Linked DNA regions of Homo sapiens: region 1 is linked to region 2. Evidence: promoter capture Hi-C in 16 types of primary human blood cells and fetal thymus (Javierre and others, 2016). All regions are on one chromosome and are shown on one strand. The core of a region is centred on a gene start or on the middle of the fragment in contact, and the rest is flanking DNA. Distances in the headings are between cores, read along the strand shown. Region 1 has its middle 79 kb from the start of SIRPA. Region 2 holds the start of SIRPB2 (signal regulatory protein beta 2).

Region 1 (4,889 bases), core at 758-3,257, 320 kb after region 2:
GGAGCTGACATTTAAGTGGAGCTTTGAAAGATGTAGGGGAGTTAGCCATGTGGGTGTCTGAAGGAAGAACCTTCCCAGTCGGAGGAGACATCAAGGGCAAAGGCCCTGAGGTAGGGCCATGCGTGGCTGTTGGGAGGATTAGGGAATTGGAGGCAATGTCTAAGACACACCCAGCACAGCCCCTGGCTCTGAGTGGGGGTTCAATCAATAGCAGTTATTATTTGTACTCATTTTATGAAAAATGCAAGAGAAGTCATTTTCCATTATTATAAAAGTTCTTGAAGGCTTTGTGGATTGATGACTTTATTCCCTTTTCTTCTTTTGTTTTTCTGAATCAGAACCAGCAAGTCCAACCCCCAAGCCCACCTGCCAGCCCGCCTCTGTGCCCCCAGTCCCAATCCGGCAGGAATGTTTGACATGCAGTGGTGCTGGAGGGAGGGAGTGTGTAATTAATGATGGTTATTAAATAATAATGCCAGCATCTTGAAGTTCTTTCCTCTCCACAGCCTCACAAATTAGACGCCTTCGAAATGTTGTGCCCGTCGCCAAGATGCACCTCCATCTGGGGTGGAAGCAACATCTGCTAAACAGCTGCATCTTGTTTAAGAGCTGGTACTTAATTCAATTATTCAGCTCTGATAGGGGCAGGCAGAGCTGAGCGGAAGGGGCAGGCCCAGTCATGGGCATATGCTGCTCCACGTCTTCCCAAGTTGACCCAAACTCCTCTCCCACAGCGTCCCCACTCGCATCTGTTGATTCAACCAACCTAGACATCTGTACATTTCCAGAACCGGCCATGCTCACTCATGCTGCCTCCTTGCTTTTTACTCAAGCTGTGTGCCCCTGCCAGGAACACTCTTCTGCTGCCTGTCCAACTCCCGTGTCCTTCGAAAGGCCCAACTCAAACATCAGTATCTCCTCCAGGACAGAGCATAGGGAATTACCTCCCATGAGCTCTCTCGGTGCTTCATGCATTCCTTAACTGGAGCATTCATAACATTACATTGCAATTTTGTGTACCCTGCTGTTTTGTAAGCCCCTTAGGCTGGGAACCATGTGTATTTCATTCTTGTTATCTCAGCATTGTACCTGACTCCCCATAGACACACCCAGCACAGCCCCTGGCTCTGAGTGTTTAGTTAATGGATGGATGGATGGGTGGGTGGGTGGATGGATGGATGGATGGATGGGTGGGTGGGTGGATGGGAGGGTGGATGGATGGATGGATGGATGGATGGATGGATGGATGGATGCATGCATGGATGGATGGGTGGGTGGATGAATGGGTGGATGGGTTGGTGGGTGGATGGATGGGTGGGTGGATGGATGGGTGGGTGGATGGATGGGTGGATGGATGAATGGATGGATGAAGAGATAGAAGAATGGAAGAAAGGAGGGAAGAACAAAGCGGTAGACAAACAGATGGACCCACTGCCACCATCTAAATCCAAACAACCATCATTTCTCACTGAAACACTGGGGTCTCTCACTGGTCTTTCAGTTTCTACTCTTGCCCCCAGTAGTCTCTTCTACTCAAAGCACTTAGTAATCTTTTGAATATGGATTTATATCATGTCACTCCCCTGTTAAAAACCTTCCAGTGGCTTCCATATTCCTAACCCTGACCTCCAAACCCCTATAGGAAACAGCCCCTGCTTATCCCTCTGATATCATCTCCTCTCTGTCCTATGCTCTGAATACTTGGGGAACCTGCCAAGCTCTCTCTCACCTCAGGACCTTTGAATCTGCTCTTCCCCTTTGCCTGGGACTCACTTCCCTGGATTTCTGTCAAGCTAGTATCTTCTTAAGTCTTCCAGTCTAGCTCTAATGCCACATCCTCAAAGAGACACTTCTTTACTTTGCCAGTTAAAATAGCCACCATTGTGGTCCTTAAAGGCCAAGGGGCCTGATCCAAATACCAATGCTTTGGCTGCTGAAACCCAACAGGCTTCCCAGAGCATCATCCTCAGCTGGGGTCGTGACGCAGACCTCCCCCAAGTGCCTGCCCTACAAGCCATCCCTTCCCTGGGTGCTCACTCCTCCTCTCCATCAACTAAAGATCCTTCATGAATGGGCTTGTCTGGAACTGCCGCAATTAAACTATCAGAGCAACATTGGACCATTTGTTTACTATGGCACTTAGAGCTGGAATGGCTTGTTGTTTTGACTGTTTCTATTTTCAGCTCCATTTCCTAGGGGTAGTGGGGAGAGGGTAGGCAATGAATCCTGGTCTGTTCAAGCAAAAAGATGCATCAGTGAAGCCTAGAATTTCAGAGTCACAGAATTCTAGCATCATTGTCATGGAATATGAGAGCAGTGAAAATCTATAATTTTGGTTATAGGTTCCTAGATTCACGAGATTCTAGAATCTTACTCAATGAAATTAGAATCTTAAAGTCAGACAAATTTAGACTCAAAGTCCTAGAGTGATGGGCTCTGAGGAGACTGTCACTTTGTCTACTCCATATCTCTTTCCCAGAAGATCTTCTCTGGGTACCTTATCCACAACGTTCCCCCCTACCGACCCACAGCCTGTCACTCTCTATTGTTTTAATTTTTCTTTATGGCTCTGATCACCACCTGACATTTGATCTGTTTCTCTGTTCATTTGCTTATTGCCTGTCTCCCTCACATGTGAGATTGAGGTCAGGAACTTTGTTTTGTTCAACGTTTAGAACAATGCCTGGCATGTTCTAAACAGTACTCAGAACAATGCCTGGCATGAAGTAAGGGCTAAAAAAAGCAGTGCCCATTCATCCAAAAAATATTTATTGCATCCCCACTTCATATTGGTGCCTCAGAGATGATCTTCTCTCAGGACAGGAAGCAGGTCTCACTTTGCATGCCAAATGCAATTGGCAGTAGATACCCAGAGCACGGTGTTGAAAAGACTTCTTGGGGCTTATCCAAGCTCCGTGGGGAAGGGCAATTGATGAGCAATGTCTGGCATAGACTCAGCCATGGGAAAAAGTGGCCATCTCTGCTCTGGCCTCCAACCCTGCACTGAAAAAAACTGAGGTCCAGAAGAAGATGCACTGGGCATGCATGGGGTGCATAGCCAGAGTTAGAACCCCATCTTCAGTCTCCCCTCAGTGTTGGTTCCTGAGCCCAAGCCTCTCACAAGCACCTGTGTGTGCCCTCCCCTCCCCATCAGCCCTTAGGCTCTCCCTCCCCCGAGGCCTTCCTGGGATGAAGGGGCTGCTGGAGTCCCTGGCCCTGAACCACAGCCTGGGAACCCAATTCTGGAACACCGCCTGAATGCGCAAGCCAGTTATTTTTAAAAATCCAAAAAGAAAAGGAAGAAAGAGAAAGCTCACTGCTTCGGTCTCCGCACTAGCCCTGGCTCAGAGAATAGAGACTTGAAAGGAACAAAGGGTTTCCTCAAACACAGCAGATCAAGGCCTTGGCTTATGTGGTAACCGGTAACCGACCACCGCGCTTTGTGACAAATCCTTCAGAAGGCAACGGCCTCTGTTCCCTCTGCAGCCTTGGCAGAAGGAGGTGGGGGAGCAGGGGACACCCTTCCCCATCGCCCCCCAGCCCCAGTCGGGCTGCTTACAATCATGGACTTCGAGAACCCCTGACTGTTAGGACCTCAAAGGCCTTCACAGAGCATGGAATCCAACCCGCTCTGGGTCAGCCAGGCAGGCAGAAGCCCTGGACAGGCTCAAGGTCACACTTTCCTCCTCCCTGGGTTCTCTTTGAAGGAGGTGGAGACCAGGGAAGTGCACCCAAGCCTCCATTTCCTCTTGAACCCATCACAGCTGCCTGAGATGCCCTCTCAGAACTCTCCCAGCTACCAAGATTCCTACTTCTTTTTTTCCTCCTGTGGATTTCTTCTTCCAAGGTGCCTGTGGGGTGTGGTTTGACCCCTGGAGACCTGGGGGTCTCCAGGTACACAGCAGGAGTACACAGAGGGGTACACAGGAGGGGTCTGCTGGTGGATTATGAGATCACAGAAGGACTACAGTCCACCCTACACTCCAGGTTGGACAATAGCAGCTGACTCAGGTGCTGTGCCAAGCCCTTTGCAGTGAGGCCTCCTGTAGGCACCGTGGCGATCCTATGATGTAGATAGGCATTGTTAGCCCCATTTTCCAGACAAGAAAGCCAAGGCTCCAAAAGACTGAGTAAGGGCCCCAAGGGGGTTGGCAGGGATTGGCAGAGCTGATGCTTGAACTCGGGGTTGCCTGTCTTCTAAACCACACTCTGTTAACTGGTCTGCTCTGCCCCACCCTCTGTGCATCAAAGGCAGGCAATGCTTCACCCCACTCTCAGGCACTGAGGAAGGCAGCAGAGGGGCCGGGCTGGGAACAAGGGGCTTCCCTCCATTGGAGGCCATTGTGCTCACAAGCCACACACTCGCACCTGCACGCAGGCTGCAGAGCCCATCAGGTCTCCTCATCCACCCCTCCATGTCAGCCTCTCTCCCCTGCCTCCTTCCTGACTTGCAATTTCTCTGGCTCTTTTCTACCCCATCTGTCAATCTGCATCGTCTCCATTCTGTGGGCCTCTCTCTCTTTATCATTTTCTGCCTCTAGCTCTGTCTCTTCCCCAGCCCTCCCCATTTCTCTATTCCTATGTCTTCCCTTTTTGTCTCTCTGCATCTGTGTGCTACTTTCTCTCTCCTCAGCATGCTTGTTCTGTCTCTCTCTCTCCCTCTCTCTCTCTCTCTCTCTCTCTGTCTCTGTCTCTCCCTCCCACCTCTCCCCCCACAATATTCTGTCTCTCCTTTAATCCTCAATATCCAGGGTTTCAGTGTCTCCATGTCTCTTCCCCCAGCCCATCTCTCCCTCTCTATTCTTACACATCTCTCCCTTTCTCCCTAGCATTATCTCCCTCTCCCTCTGTCTCTGCTCTATCCTCCCTTGCTTTCCCTCCTGCCTCTC
Region 2 (4,689 bases), core at 641-3,140:
AGTCCTGGTGCCCACACCCCTTCCCTCCCTCTCCCCTTCTGAGTCCCCTTCTGTGTTGTCACTTGGGCTTTAGGAGGTGTCCTAGGAGGTTTGCCTCTGCCTTGTCAGTGGAGCTGGACCTTCTCATCTATTTTCCATCTGCATCCTCTGCCTTTCATGGTTCCTGTATGGGGCTCCCTTTAAAAGCCTTATAGAAAATGTGTTAGCCCCAGTCTCCTCTACTGCAAAATAGGGGCACTCATATTTTTCTCGGGGCTGCTGTGAGTATTAAATAGAGAAGTGGTGAGGCTCAATCCTGGGCCAGCTACGTAATTTGTGAGGCCAAGTGCAAAACGGGAATGCAGGTCCCTTGTTCAAAAACTATTGAGCAACACAGCAGAACATTAAACCAAGCATGGGGCCCTTCTAAGCAGGAGGCTCTGTGCCACTATATAGAGGGCACACCCAAGAACCAGCCCTGACTCAGCTTGAGATGCAGCTGGACTCAAACATTCCAACTGACTGGTTTAAGCAACTTCTCTTATTTTCCATCTATTCTATTGCAACAATCATTGGGAATATTTTTTATTCTGAGTAGTTTAGATTTCTGATTTCCTAGTCTAGTGCCTAAAACATAGCAGACACTCAAAAGTACCTGTGGAATGAGACCTAGCAATTATGATTCACATCTTAGAATTGAGGAAATCAGCTTAGAGAATTGAAGTGGTGTCTTGAGTCATACGGCCAATGAGTAAGGGAGCACCTAGGTCCGACCCCACACCTGGGTTCTGCCAGGATCTCTCCTGGGGATGGCCACCCCGGAGGACCAAAGATGTCATGGACAGAATCTAGATCTCAGTAGAGCCTGGAGCAGAGGCCCAGATGGGCAGGAGATGGAATGAGCCCACTGAGAGCCAAGTATCCCTGCCTGGTAGATCAGAGAGTTCTGGACTCAGAGGCTGAGCTATATATTCAGGGGTCTCAAGACTCTGGAGCTAACCTGGCCTGCCCCTGAGTTAGAGGAAACATGGGAATGATAATAATAATCGCCAAGAGTTATCAAATCTTTGTTATGCCAGGCACTTATGGGTATTATCTTGTTAAATTCTCCTAAGAAAGTCCCAAGGTGGGTCCTATTTTTAGCTCCATTTTACAGTTGGAAAAACTGAGGCTCAGAAAGAAATTACTTAAACTGGTTAGTGGTGAGGTTTGAGCCTACTGCGTCTTAAGCTGAGCCAGGGCTGGTTCATGGCTGTGCCATCTATGTAGTCGCACAGGGCCCTGTGCTTAGAAGGAGCCCATGCTTGGTTTACTGCTCTGCTGTGTTGCTCAATACTTTTTGAACAAAAGACCGCAGTTTTCATTTTGCAGTGGGTCTCATAAACTATGCAGCCGGCCCAGGGCTGAGCCTCACCACTTTTCTATTTAATACTCACAGTAGCCCTAGAGAAAGGTCCCATGAGCGTCCCTGTTTTGTAGAAGAGGCTCCTGGGGCTAAAAGAGCTGCAGCATCTGACGTGGGCATAGGAGCAATCAAGCTGGAAGCCAGTGGGTGTGAGCGCAGAGCCTGGGAGCTTATCACTTCACTACGCTGCTTCTTGGGACACTGGGGGTGCCCTCTGCCGGAGTCAGGCAAATTTTCAGTGGACCCCTCTTTACTCTATCTTCATGGGGTCAAGCTTCTTCAGGCATGGCAGAGCACTTAGTGCCCCTCTAGGGACTGACCAGCCGGGGGTGGACCCTGTTCTATCCTAGACCCCACTTACCTGAGGGGACAAGGACCAGTGCCAGCAGCAGGAAGCAGGGAGGCAAGTGGGCCAGGCAGGTGGGGGCCGACATCGTGGAGCACATGGCATCTTCTGTGGTCCCCAAGACTTGGGGCTCCTCTGCTCTCTTGTGAGTGTTGGAGTCTGAGGCGGGGCCCGTGGACAAGGCAGTTTCTGCGTCTCTTGGCCACAGCTGCTTGGGGAAGTGTTTTCATTGCAGCAACACAAGGCTGTTGGTGCAATAGGAAGGAGCCCGGTCAAAGGGTTTCCTGCTTTTGTGTCTGGGCTGTGATTCCTGTAGTCACTGTGCTAAAACCTTGCCATAGGCTCCATCCTAGGTGCCCGGGAGGGAGGTGGGCACTGAGGTCATAGGACGCACTCCAGAATCGGGTGGAATTTGGAGCAAACATTGGATCTTCCTCTTCTTGGCTGTGCAAGATTTCAAAGTCACTTCCCATTTCTGAGCCTTTTGTTTCTTCATCTGCAGCGTAGGAACAACGGCAGTTCCCTCCTCAGAACAGTTTTGGTAAGATTATGAGAAATAATGTGAGGGCACAGAACAATGTAAATGCTAAACATATTAACCATTATTATTCATGATGTGCAGAAAGTAGAGGAGGTGACATTGCTTAAGAAGAAGGATTTATTATAAAGCAAGCCCCATGGGGGCCTCCTTTTAGCACTGCAGGGAGGGTACAGGCCTAATTCCTAAAAGTATAATCATGTGTAACTCTCTCAGCCTCTGTTTCCTGGGGTCCAAGTGAAACATACTCAGATTGTGCAAACATTTGCGTTTGTGGCATCTTTGTTTCCTGTAAGTGATCTGAACTTCCTCAGGAGCCTCCTGGTGCTGGCTATCAAGAAGGAAAAGCTTAATCTTGCCAATTCATGCAATCCAGGCAATCTCTTTAGCCACACTGTCTGGGTTCAAATCTTGGCTTTACTCAGTCTGGCTGTGTGACCTTAGGACAATCATTTGACCACTTTATGCCTCGGTTTCCTCATCTGTAAAACAGGAATAAAAATGTGGTAGCATGTGTGGGGTGGAGTAAGCACTCTATAGGCTTTCACCATTGTCTTTTAGGTTAACTCAGTCTTTTAATTAACTCAGGGAAAAGTACAAGAACAACTCAGCCTTTCATTATTTCACTTCCTCCCTCATGCTTCAGAAGGTTCTGGGTGCAGAGGAAGCTGAAGATTCTCCAGCAACAGGGTGGCAGGCCTTGGATCTGAGTATGTCCCCTGGGTCCCAGAGGTCTGGTGTCTACTATGAGGAGGTTAGTCTGGCCTGGTCCCCAAGGACTTTGCACTGGGTCTGTGACTGGTCTTTTCTAGACTTTTGAGGCCTTGCATTGATACCCCTGCTCAATTCCATTACTCCCTCTACTTGTTCTCCTGTCAATGAGATCTATATAGTGAAACTTCTTTGAAAGGGCCACAAGCCTAGATGATTCCACCAGACCCTCAGTACTTTCCATGTCATTCTTACACGGGAATTTCTGAATCACCTGCTCATCTATGCAGATTTCTTTCTCAGCTATTGTTTTTTTCTAAAGTTTTACTTACAAATAATTTTATTTTAATAGGCAAGGCATTGTATTGGTTAGCTATTGCTGCATAACAAAGCACCCCAAAATTTAGAAGCTTAAAAACTAAATGTTCAGTTAATTTACTATTTTGTGGGTTGACAATTCAGTCAGGGCTCCATTTGGTGGTTCGGTCTTCTCATCTCAGCAGATTTTGGCTGGGAATGTTCATGCACTTGAGGTCAGCTGCAGGTTGGCTAGGTGGCTTTGTTACTGCGGTTGACTGATTGTTAACCCAGGTACCTCAGCTGTCCTCTATGTGGTCTCTCATCTTCCAGGACACTAACTTAGTCTTGTTCTCATGAAAGGGGCAGTTTTGAGAGACAGTGCAAGGTACAAGGAAACTTCTGCCATATTCTTTTGGCCACATCAAGTTACAAGACCAGACAAGATTCAAGGAATGGAAAATAGACTTTGCCTCTTGTTAGGGAACTGCAAAGCCTAATTGCAAAAGGTGTGGATACAAAGAGGGGGTATAGAATTGTGGATATTTTTGTGATTTATCTGCCATGGGCATCTACAGGTACAAAATTCAGAGGTCTCAGTGTCTCATTTATAGGGCTCCCAGACATTACTTTCCTTAGGGTTAACCACAGTCACCAGTTTTTGAAGACATTCATTTCCTTTACTGTTTCTGATCTAGTGCTCAGAAGCCAGGTTGAATATGGTTTCTTTGTGATGTCGTGGACTATGAACACCCTGGGAAGACAGGCCATGATCCCTTATGCTGTAGGAATCCCTAAACTCCATTCCCACCCCACCCCAGCATTTGGACCTCAGGACTGTGGGGTTGGCAGGACTCTAGCATCTCAACCCCTGTCTTCTCCCTCTTTTTCTTACTTCCTCACCAAGTCATAAGGGGAGGAGTTCCCCTTCTTTTCCTTCTGGTAGGGACTTTCCTAATCTCAGTCTTCTTCCTAACAGCTGGCCTTCTTTGTTCTAGATGGAATCCCTCCTGCCCCTTCCTCAAGACAGCAAGTCTCACACTCCAGCTTAGAATAGGAAAAAAGCTTCCAGGGAAGGAATTAAACTGCTGGGAGGTGGAGAAATGCAAAAGGAAATAGTTAAAAATGTTATATCTGTCACGTCATCTATAAAACACATGAAATGCGATTGCGCGTGAAGCACTGGCTTGCGATAATTGCTCAGTAACTAGGAACAGTGGCATTCCTCCTGGTCAGTGTGCTTGGGTATCACATGAACTATAGTGTCTATTACTAGCCTGAGTTAAGTTATCCTCAACAAGAGCACCCGAGGTATATATAGAACACAAGTCTACCCATAAAGCTTTTTTTCCTTCCACTACAAAAATGGAACTTTGTTAAAACAACAGCTTTTTGATTGTTTACCATAAAATG

The links. The method cuts DNA at HindIII sites, captures the fragments that hold promoters and counts their contacts. A CHiCAGO score of 5 or more calls a contact.
Region 1: a fragment that was not itself captured here is called in contact with the fragment with the promoter of SIRPB2 in region 2 in 1 of 17 cell types (M1 macrophages); the score reaches 5.1 in M1 macrophages.

Annotation. Positions count from the first base shown.
Region 1 is chr20:1,813,757-1,818,645 of GRCh38, forward strand. No RefSeq gene overlaps it. Among named protein-coding and RNA genes, the nearest start is that of SIRPA, 79 kb to the right of the region's middle. RefSeq lists a silencer at 2,567-2,861. The HindIII fragment of the contact is 7,477 bases long and covers 1-4,889 here.
Region 2 is chr20:1,489,530-1,494,218 of GRCh38, forward strand. It overlaps SIRPB2 (signal regulatory protein beta 2), which reads right to left and starts at 1,891. Exons shown (of 5, transcript NM_001122962.2): 1 at 1,746-1,891. The coding sequence starts at 1,830. The HindIII fragment of the contact is 958 bases long and covers 1,657-2,614 here.